Linked DNA regions of Homo sapiens: all the other regions are linked to region 3. Evidence: promoter capture Hi-C in human tissues and cell types (Jung and others, 2019). All regions are on one chromosome and are shown on one strand. Each heading gives the region's core, a stretch centred on a gene start or on the middle of the fragment in contact. The rest is flanking DNA. Distances are from core to core; before and after follow the strand shown.

The links. The method cuts DNA at HindIII sites, captures the fragments that hold promoters and counts their contacts. A contact is called where the count stands out against the background at its distance.
Region 1: a fragment that was not itself captured here is called in contact with the fragment with the promoter of TMEM30B in region 3 in 1 of the 25 tissues and cell types used here (thymus).
Region 2: a contact is called between a fragment that was not itself captured here and the fragment with the promoter of TMEM30B in region 3, in 2 of the 25 tissues and cell types used here (liver and mesenchymal stem cells).
Region 4: a fragment that was not itself captured here is called in contact with the fragment with the promoter of TMEM30B in region 3 in 2 of the 25 tissues and cell types used here (H1 embryonic stem cells and lymphoblastoid cells).

Annotation. Positions count from the first base shown.
Region 1 is chr14:61,643,723-61,646,422 of GRCh38, reverse strand. All of the region lies in intron 1 of LINC03033 (long intergenic non-protein coding RNA 3033), which reads right to left. Among named protein-coding and RNA genes, the nearest start is that of HIF1A, 50 kb to the left of the region's middle. The HindIII fragment of the contact is 7,770 bases long and covers 1-2,700 here.
Region 2 is chr14:60,898,925-60,901,624 of GRCh38, reverse strand. All of the region lies in intron 7 of MNAT1 (MNAT1 component of CDK activating kinase), which reads right to left. Among named protein-coding and RNA genes, the nearest start is that of TRMT5, 81 kb to the left of the region's middle. The HindIII fragment of the contact is 5,229 bases long and covers 1-2,700 here.
Region 3 is chr14:61,280,059-61,282,758 of GRCh38, reverse strand. It overlaps TMEM30B (transmembrane protein 30B), which reads left to right and starts at 1,421. Exons shown (of 1, transcript NM_001017970.3): 1 at 1,421-2,700. The coding sequence starts at 1,612. The coding sequence ends at 2,667. It also overlaps a transcript of PRKCH not described here. RefSeq lists an enhancer at 1,996-2,700. The HindIII fragment of the contact is 14,970 bases long and covers 1-2,700 here.
Region 4 is chr14:60,944,405-60,947,104 of GRCh38, reverse strand. The region is part of intron 7 of MNAT1 (MNAT1 component of CDK activating kinase); the gene reads right to left. Among named protein-coding and RNA genes, the nearest start is that of TRMT5, 35 kb to the left of the region's middle. The HindIII fragment of the contact is 3,483 bases long and covers 1-2,700 here.

The DNA of each region.
Region 1 (2,700 bases), core at 144-2,643, 360 kb before region 3:
GATCATGGCTAGAGTATAGTTTGGAAACCATTTATAAATAAAACTACATTCTAGTCACAACAATTTAATAATATAAATATATAGAGAAATTTAAATATACAAACATTTCAAGTAAATGCTAATTGTGACCTAATGTCTTTACTAGAGAAGAATAATATGAAAATTCATCTAGTGTTCTGTTTATAACTCTAATGCAAAAGATAGTTCTCTATTAGTTGAGTCAAATGTTTGTATCTCGATTACAGGCATCAGAACTTTGAGGTCTTTACTGACCTACACTCCTATCAAGACAAAAAAAAAGGAAGAAGTGTGGCATTTATTTGTCCATTAGTTCATTCATTCATTCTGCAAATATTCAGCATTTACCTTGTACGTGGCATTGAATTTGGCCCGAAGAACAGATAACCTAATGGTGTTTGGAGAATTGAAATAGTTATACTGCAAGTAATCTAATTGATTAAATCTTCTTATTTAAAGTTGAAGACTGAGGCAAATTAAAGCAGCCAAACAATTTTGGCTAGTTTTACCCATGCACTCTCGTTATGTCCATACCCACCTTCCACTAAACTTCTCTTGTCATTCTTCCCTATTTTCTAACCATTATTATAACTCCAACAGATATATTGTCATTTGCATTTATATACAATTAAGTTGGTCAATGATCCTAATCCATTCACTTCAACTACATAAGTACAATGTTAGTGAAATAAATGTGTCATTTAAAAATGAGGTCTGATCATACCATAAGACAGGGCAAAAAGGAAAATAAAGAAAATGAGGTCTAAGGTTAAAATATTTCATTAAAAAACATCAAAACTGAACACAGAAATGATCACAATAGAAGCAGACAGCCATTCCTTAGAACCTCTTTCTACTGTCTATTTCCTGAAATGGTTTTTCTCTAGTTTATTTCATTTTGTATCACAGATGACTATTTGGTTTAGTGTGTCTAATTCCTCTGCAATTAGATTTGCAGAACATATTACTTCATTTTAATAAAAAGTTTTTGAATCACAGCCAAATTGCTGTAGGACAAGCAGATTTTGTTTTCTTACAATTTCATTAGTAAAAAAAAAATGAGGATACCAATATTGAAATGTCACAAATATGGAATTTTAAGTCAAACATCTGTGTTCCCTTAAAGGAGAATATCTTTTCTGAAGCTTGGGAGCCTCCATTAGTGAACAAATTAGTTAAACAGACATTTGCAATGAAAAAAAAAAATCCCATCAGTTTTGTTGAATTATTTTTGTTTTATTATGGGTTTATTTCATTATTAAAAGTAGAAAAAATGCATAAAATAATAGAAGAATAAGAAATAAAACAATTACTTGAGGCTGTACTAGGCAAATGATTCTGATGTGCTTCACTGAACACAGGATGTAACCTGAGCCCCTGTCCCTGGCTTGACAGAGCATCTGTTTCTCACAGATGCCTGAAAAACACCCTGCTCCTCTAGATGCTGGGGCGCTTTTCTGAGCATTGCATTACCTTTATCAAAGAGTGCAAACACGTATTCTATTTGTAAGGGATGGATGAATGTAGATGGTTGTGTTGTGCATACCATCTATATCCTTCTATGTATATATGCTCTTGTACCCAAAAGAAAAGTCACACTTAATTCATGGTCCATGGCTGTACAAACAACAAGAAATACCACATCTAGTACTGCAAAAAAGCAAGTGGAAGAACCAGTATCTCTTATTTAGATATACTGTAGTAGTAAAAGAGAACATACCCAGTACAAAGGAAGGGGCATCTGCTTTTCTTAGTTCTGGGGATTGCTATGTTTAATAACTTCAGAGGAACACTGATGAGGTGGAAGGCAAGTGCATGTCTCTTTTTTCCCCCTACTGCATACAGAGCCCTGGTACAGAGCACTCAGTGGATGCTCATAAATATTTGTTGAGTGAATGAAAGGAGAACAACTAGAATTGTGATGCATTTCTAAAACAGGACTAAAACAGGCCATGTGGTTAAAGTAAATGAAGATACTTAGCCAGAGAGGAGGAGACTTAGGGAGCACAACAGTTCTCTTTGTATTTGAAATAAATTTTCACATAGAGGAAGGGCTAGACTCACTCTGAGTGACCTAGGGAACAAAATAAGCAACTGTATAAAGAGGAACATGAAATTAGAGCTGCCCCAAATGGAAGAGTAACCACTGGAATAACTCTTGTTAACCATTCTAATTCTTACCTAGTTTCTACATCTTCCTGTCACCAAAGTTGCTCATTCATTCACCCATTCATTCAAAAACACATATTTACATGGGTGAACACATCTCCAAACTCATCAAACTGTATACATTAAATATGTACAGCTTTTTGTATGACAATCATATCTCAATAAAGTAGTTTTAACAACAGCCACCACCACCAAAAGTCCCCCCAAAAAATACATATTGAGAACCTTCATGCTTACAGGTACTCTATCAGGTTCTGGGGAAATAACTGTGAACCCAAGAAACGTGGCCTCTTTTCTCATTCAGTTTATAAGCTGGTGAAGGAAACAGACAAGACAGTCAGACAAATCCTTTACAAATGATCATGCAACTTTGGTTTCAGTAAAGTCAGTTGCTTAAATCAAAGTTGCATGATCATTTGTAAAGGATACCAAAAAGGGAAATCCTGAATCATGTGTAAGGGCTAGACAGGATGATCTCACTAGTCTTTCCAACTGTTGAGATTCCTAGGATAC
Region 2 (2,700 bases), core at 90-2,589, 380 kb after region 3:
GACCTCCTCCCATGGATCACAAATATTCCTAATGCACAAATATTCCTAATGGCTTCTAGAGTAATGAATTGTTTCCAGAAGGTTTTCAATTTGTTTCATCCAGATCCATCAGAGGAATCACTATCTATGGCAGCTATAGCACTATGAAACATATTATTTAAATAACAAGACTGAAAAGTCAAAATTACTCCTTGATCCATGGGCTTTAGAATGGATGTTGTGCTAGCAGTCATGAAAACAATATCCATTTCCTTGCACATATCCATCAGAAGTCTTAGGTGACCAGATGTAATGTCAATGAGTAGCAGTATTTTGAAAGAAATCTCTTTTTTCCGAAGCAGTAAGTCTCAAGAGTGGGCTTCAAATATTCAGCAAACCATGCTGTAAACAGACACACTGTCATCCTGGCTTTTTCATTCCATTTATAAAGCACAGGCAGAGTAGATTTAGCATACTTTTTAGGGGCCCTACAATTTTCAAAATGGCAAATAAATATCGGCTTCAATTTAAAGTCACCAGCTGCATTTGCTCCTAAAAAGAGAGTCAGACTTGCTTTTGAAGCTCTGGAAACAGGCATTGACTTTTTTTTTTTTTTTTTTTTTTTTTTTTTTGAGACAGGCTCTCACTGTATCACATCACTACACTCCAGCTCAGGGTCACCCAGGCTGGAGTACAGTGACATGATCATGGCTCACTGCAGCCTCAACCTCCCCAGGCTCAGGTGATTCTCCCACCTCAGCCTCCTGAGTAGCTACCTCCCATCACCATGCCTAGCTAATTTTTGTATTTTTTGCCATGTTGCCCAGGCTGCTCTCGAACTCTTGGGCTCAAGCTATCTGCCTGCCTCAGCCTCCCAAAATCCTGGAATGAGAGGTGTGAGCTACCATAAGTGGCTGACTTCTTTCTGGCTATGAAAATCCTAGATGGCATCTCCTTCCAATAGACGGATGTTTCATCTACATTGAAAAATCTGTGTTCAGAGTAGCCACCTTCATCAATATCTTGGTAGATCTTGCTGAAGCTTCCACATCAGCCCTTGCTGCTTCACCTTGCACTTTACGTTACGGAAATGGCATCCTTCCTTACATTTCATGAACCAACCTTTGTTAGCTTTAGAATTTTCTTCTGTAGCTTCCTCACCTTTCTCAGCCTTCATAGGATTAAAGAAAGTTAGGCTTTGGTTTAAGGGATTGTTCTTGCTTCTTCGATCTATCCAGACCACTAAAACTTTCTCCATAGCAGCAATCAGGCTGTTTTGCTTTCTTAACATTCATGTGTTCATTGGAGCAACACTTTTAATTTCCTTTAAGAACTTTTCCTCTGCATTCACAACTTGGCTGTTTGGCACAAGAGGTCTAGCTTTTGCCTATTTTGGTTTTTGACATATCTTGCTCACTAAGCTTAATCACTTCTATCTTTTCATTGAAAGTGAGAGACATGTGACCCTTCCTCTCACTTGAACACACAGAACCCTCTGCAGGGTTATTAATTGGCCTAATTTCAATATTGCTGCATCTCAGGGAATAGGGAAGTCCAAGGTAAGAGAGAGAGAGAGAGAGAGAGAGAGAGAGAGAGATGGGGAAACAGCCAGTCAGAAGAACAGTCAGAACACACACATTTATTAACTTCACCTTCTTATACGGGTACAGTTTGTGGCAACCAAAACAATAATAATAGTAACAGCAAAAGATCACTAATCACAAATCACCACACAGATAAAATCATGCAAAAGTCTGAAATAGTGTAAGAATTAACCAAATGTGAAAAACAGACATGAGGTGAGTACATGCTGTTGGAAAAACAGCATTGATATACTTGCAATATTTGCAAAAAGTAATAAAACGAAATGCAATAAAATGAGGTACACCTGTATTTTTGTGAACTGGACCCTATTCTATTTCTTCAAGAGTCATAGATTTTTTAATTGCTTTGCCAATAAGAGTAATAGATTTGTGATAATCAATTACTTTTGCTCAGCAAGTTGGTTTTTATGAATGCAGTCTATGGCCACACAAGAAAACAAAATTAATAGTGCTAATAGAGATCAAACAAGAAATTTTCTTCTAATTACCATCAGGTTCTAATTAACTGACTTAATTCAATACCACCATAACTACTACAATTATTTTCACTACTGATGATATAATAATAGTTAGATATTCTCTGCTAATAGAGATCAAGCAAGAAATTTTCTTCTAATTACCATCAGGTTCTAATTAACTGACTTAATTCAATATCATCATAACTACTACAATTATTTTCACTACTGATGATATAATAATAGATATTATCATGTCTTGTGACTCAGGACATTAAACCTTCACAGTTAAAAATCATTTTTAAAGTTTGCTGATTGATAGTACAGAACTTATGCCAGTTATGTCAACATAAGACAGAAATAAGTACGTGCATCTATATCTTTGTATTGCTTTGTGATAGAGCATTGTAGCTACCACAAAGCAGTATAAAGACAAGCTCTACATGAAATTAAGATAAAAATTTCATTCTACAAGATCAGTGGAACATAATAGAGAACCCGGAAATAAAGCCACATGTTTACGGCCAATTAATAATCAACAATGATACCAAGTACGTACACTGGGGAAAGAATTCCTTCTTTAATAAGTGGTGCTGGGAAAATTGGATATTCATATGCAGAATAATGTAACTGGACTCCTATCTCTCACCATATACAAAAAT
Region 3 (2,700 bases), core at 172-2,671:
ATTTAACAAACTGGAATCAATGTTCCATTATTAAATCAATATTACTTTTTAATTTTAATGTGACTTGTAGAATGCAATTTGATACTTGATTACACCCTATGATTCATAGCTATTATTGGCTATTTTGATTGTTTCTTACTCCTAATATGTCCCCTATCAAACTGCAAATGCCTTGAGGTCAAAGGTCCTTTTTTGTCTAATTAGCATAGGACTGAACACTTGGAAGATGCTAACAACATTCCTCTGTTAAATTTAATAAGGATTTTAACTTTCCAAGTTCAATGGGTTTTGAATGACTCCTGAATATAATATATTATGCTAGGTGTAGTGTAATAGAGAAAACATTTGTATTACTTGCATTTTACAAGCTGGAGGAGAAGCAAGAACACAATACCTAGGGAAGATTTAGATTTAGTAAGAAATCAGAACGTCCCAATACCCCCTTGTATATGTTTTACCAACCTAGATTTAAAAAAAAAAAAAAAAAAGCCAGAATCCCAGGCAACATAGGGAGCTAATTTGAGTTCTTTTTATAATAAATCCTATAAATCCTTGTAGTTTACTTCCTTAGGCCAGACACTCCAGATGTTTTTGTGGATAGCAGCTAGGTCTCCTGGGACCTTGGATTGGGCCTTTCTCTAGTCAGGCAAATAATCTGAAAAGAAAACGAAATCACATGTAGTCCAGCACATTTTTTCCTTTCTTGGTTTCTCCACACCAGCTAAGAGTTATTTAAAGGCTCTGAACCTCTCCAGCCTTTGATTCTTTTTAAGGATGATTTTATTTTTAGAGAACTTTCCACATTTCCTAGTTATACAGCCAGACTGGGTGATCTGGCCAGAAAATCATTTTCCCTTAAAAAAAAAAAAAAAAAAAAAAAAAAAAAAAGCTAAAATTTGAACGCAGGCGTTGAATTCGAAACAGATTTATCATAACGTAATTCCCTGGACACTCCCAACTTGAGACTGAAAGCTGGGCGAAAGCGGTTTGTGAAGCTAACCTAAAAGACAAAATGGTCTAGAGCCACCTTTTCCCCGCAAATAACAGAGGATTAAGGATCTGAAATCTTCAAGCCTCCAGGACCACGGTGCAAGCCCTCAGCAAAAATTTCTGCTGGAGGCCGGAGCGCCTTTTGATTTCGGGAGACTGGCCCAGGAACTCTAGTCACTTGGAAGGCGGAAGAGAAGGTGGTACCTGAGCCAGGTAGGAGCCACTCAGAGGCAGCCCGGGGCCGCCACTCACCTAGGAGAGGAGGTGGAGTCCGATGACCTGGACTGAGAGGAAACGCGAGACTGAGTCTACCAGGTGAGGTAAAAAACACCCACCTGCTCACCTCGGAAGGGGCGGGCGAGGTGCGGCTCCCGGTGACCCGCGGGGGTGCAGCGCACCTGGGCGGAGGCGGAACTGGGAGGGTGTGGGCACTGCTCGTAGGGCCTGGAACTAAACTCACCTGTGACGGAGGCAGAGGAGGGGCCCGGGCAAAAACCCACCTGAGCTGGCGGGAAACCCGACCCGCGAGCAGTCCCCGGGCTTGCGCGGCGCGGAGAGGGAGGCGCCCCGCGGCGGGGCCCCCACTCGGTCAGCCCGCGCGTCGGTCCCCGCGCGGCCGCCATGACCTGGAGCGCCACGGCCCGGGGCGCCCACCAGCCCGACAACACCGCCTTCACTCAGCAGCGCCTCCCCGCCTGGCAGCCGCTGCTGTCGGCCAGCATCGCGCTGCCGCTCTTCTTCTGCGCGGGCCTGGCCTTCATCGGCCTGGGCCTGGGCCTCTACTACTCCTCCAACGGCATCAAGGAGCTGGAGTACGACTATACAGGCGACCCGGGCACCGGTAACTGCTCGGTGTGCGCCGCGGCTGGCCAGGGCCGGGCGCTGCCGCCCCCCTGCTCGTGCGCCTGGTACTTCTCGCTGCCCGAGCTCTTCCAGGGCCCAGTGTACCTCTACTACGAGCTGACCAACTTCTACCAGAACAACCGGCGCTACGGCGTGTCCCGCGACGACGCGCAGCTGAGCGGACTCCCCAGCGCGCTGCGCCACCCTGTCAACGAGTGCGCCCCCTACCAGCGCAGCGCGGCCGGCCTGCCCATCGCGCCCTGCGGCGCCATCGCCAACAGCCTCTTCAACGACTCCTTCTCGCTTTGGCACCAGCGCCAGCCCGGCGGGCCCTACGTCGAGGTGCCGCTCGACCGCTCCGGCATCGCCTGGTGGACCGACTACCACGTCAAGTTCCGCAACCCGCCGCTGGTCAACGGCAGCCTGGCGTTGGCCTTCCAGGGCACGGCGCCCCCGCCCAACTGGCGCCGGCCAGTCTACGAGCTCAGCCCCGACCCCAACAACACCGGCTTCATCAATCAGGACTTCGTGGTGTGGATGCGCACGGCGGCGCTGCCCACGTTCCGCAAACTGTACGCGCGCATCCGCCAGGGCAACTACTCGGCCGGGCTGCCGCGGGGCGCCTACCGCGTCAACATCACCTACAACTACCCGGTGCGCGCGTTCGGCGGCCACAAGCTCCTCATCTTCAGCAGCATCTCGTGGATGGGTGGCAAGAACCCCTTCCTGGGCATCGCCTACCTGGTCGTCGGCTCCCTCTGCATCCTCACCGGCTTTGTCATGCTGGTCGTCTACATTCGCTACCAGGACCAGGACGACGACGACGAGGAGTGATTCCGGCTTTCCAGGGATCCCTCCTGCTTCTTG
Region 4 (2,700 bases), core at 168-2,667, 340 kb after region 3:
CAATGTGATAGTATTTGGAAATGGGGTCTTTGTGAGGCATTCAGGTTTACATGAATTCACGAGGGTGGAGCCTTCATGACTATATTAATGCCCTTACAAGAACAGATACCAGAGAACAAACTTGCTGTCTCTCTGCCACATGAGGACACAGATAGAAGGCCAGGAAGAGAGCCCTCGCCAGCAATCAAATCAGCCAGGACTTCCCAGCCTCCAGAATTATGAGAAATAGACTTCTATTGTTTAAGCCACTGAGTGTGTGGTATTTGGTTATAGCAGTTGAAGTAGACAAATAGACTATTACCATATAGCTTTAGAATCAAACATTTGATGTTAAATCCTACCCCCATAGTACTGGTCTCAGGAAAGGTATGTGGCCTGTTCAGGGTTGTTATAAATTATCAGGAACGATATACAAGAAGTGCCTAAAAAAGAGCCTACCATACACACAGGTACTCAATTAGTGATAGTGAATGAGAACAAAAGGTCAAGGAATGACTTCACACAATAACTTTAGCAGAGGAAGAAGAACTGGCCAAAAGGATTCAGAAGAAATCAGAGGAAGAAAAAAAAAACAAAAACAAAAACAAAAAGGAAGTAGTGTCATAAAGCAAATGAAAGATACAGTTTGAAGAATAAGAGAATGGTTCGATAGAAGGGTAAAATAAGAAAAGGACCGCAAGTTACCCACCAAATTTTGTAATTAGCAAGTCGATTGTGAATCAGCAAAATCAGATTCTAAGTAAAAGCCAAATTCCACTAGGTTTGGTGGATGAATCAGAAATAAGGAAGTAGAGAGAGCAAGTATAAGACTTTTTTCAAAGGTTTTTCATTGAATATGGAAGAAAGAGCAGTAGTCAGAGGAAGATTCAGGGTTGATGAAGCGACTATGTGGTTTTAAGATGGAAATTTGAGTATGTTCATGTTGTAAAGGAAATATTTCAACACAGAGAAGATGATCTCAATCTGAAAGAGGGAGGGAGACCAATTTGATGGTCTAATATCCCTGAGTTGAATCAAAAGTAGGCCATGGAACACAGGTGGTGGGACTGGCCTCAAAAGCAGGACAGGCCTTTCTGCCAATAAGAATGGACAGAAGGAGTTAGCAATGTGTACAAGTATGGACGAGTTTATAGTTAGAGTGTGGCTTTGGAGAGAATGTATTCATACATACGTTTTCTCTGTGTAGCATGTTGAAAAGTTAGTTGCTGAGTATAAAGAGGGGAAAGTGGAGTGGGAGATTTAGGAAACTGATGATGTGGGAAAGCCACTGTGGGATGTGAGAGAAGAAGCCACCGTATCTGTGTGCAAAATGATACCTGAATGGCACCAATCTGTTGTTTATGGGATCTTCTCCAGCTTCTCTCGGCAGAACTAATTTAACAATAATTCATACATGTTTTAAAATTTCTAATTATTATTTGTATTCAAATGTTATATATTGTCACAATATAACGAAAACACTAAAATACTAATGTATTTAATATAATTAAAACAGTAAAAATACTAATGTGTTCATAAGGAAGAAAAGATGTGATTATAAAGGAATTTTAGAAAGTGCCCCCAGTGGCCTAAGCCCTTCTCTCATGTAACAGAGAAAAATGACCAAAGATTTATTCAACTTTGAGACTGGGCCCATATTGTAAAGTGATTCCTATAAGGAATCTATTTGGTATTCAAATTTATTCCAAAGAAAAACAAAGAAAATAGATAGTTAGAATTCCTTTATATAAAGATGCTCTATTTTTTTTTTCTGGCAAAGGGCTCTGGATAGAGATAAAATTACCTGACTCCCCTCTTACATAATAAAAAGATTATCATGACACATTATAGACTCAAAAGATGGATTTAGAAAAAAAACTGAAAGTGCTGCCTGTGTCTCAAAAAAACATTTTGGGACACAATAGGAAGCTATAGGTTTGGAAATATTCTTAACCCCTGAAGTATACCTTGAACAAGAAAGTATACTACTAAGCTTTGAGTGAAAAGCACTTGAGCCTACATGATGATGGTAAGTGGTTCTTAGTAGCTTTGAAACTCTGATTCAGGTCTTCACATTAGCTGCTTAATTGCACTGACTGAATTTTTCATTAGCTGATGAAATATTTTATTAGCTTTGGGAAACTGCTATAATCATATTTACAGTAAGAGTTTTCTAAATATTTATTTCCTTGGAGCAAAGAGTTAACACTTTTTAAGAGCTATGTTTGCATGAAAACTCTTTGAGTCCTCTCATTATTTGTACATCTATGAATAATTCAGACAATAAAATGGAATAAAAATTAAAACCAGAGATAATTTCTCCTAGAAAATTATGAGTTCTAGAAAGTGAAATTAAAGTGCCTCGCTTACCAAAATCTTGACAATTTGAAGTTTTATAAGTTTATAAAATTTTATAATTTAGGCACTTCTTGTATATTGTTCCTGATAATTTATAACAACCCTGAACAGGCCACATACCTTTCCTGAGACCAGTACTATGGGGGTAGGATTTAACATTAAATGTTTGATTCTAAAGCTATATGGTAATAGTCTATTTGTCTACTTCAACTGCTATAACAAAATACCACACACTCAGTGGCTTAAACGATAGAAGTCTATTTCTCATAATTCTGGAGTCTAGGAAGTCCTGGCTGATTTGGTTGCTGGCGAGGGCTCTCTTCCTGGCCTTCTATCTGTGTCCTCACGTGGCAGAGAGACAGC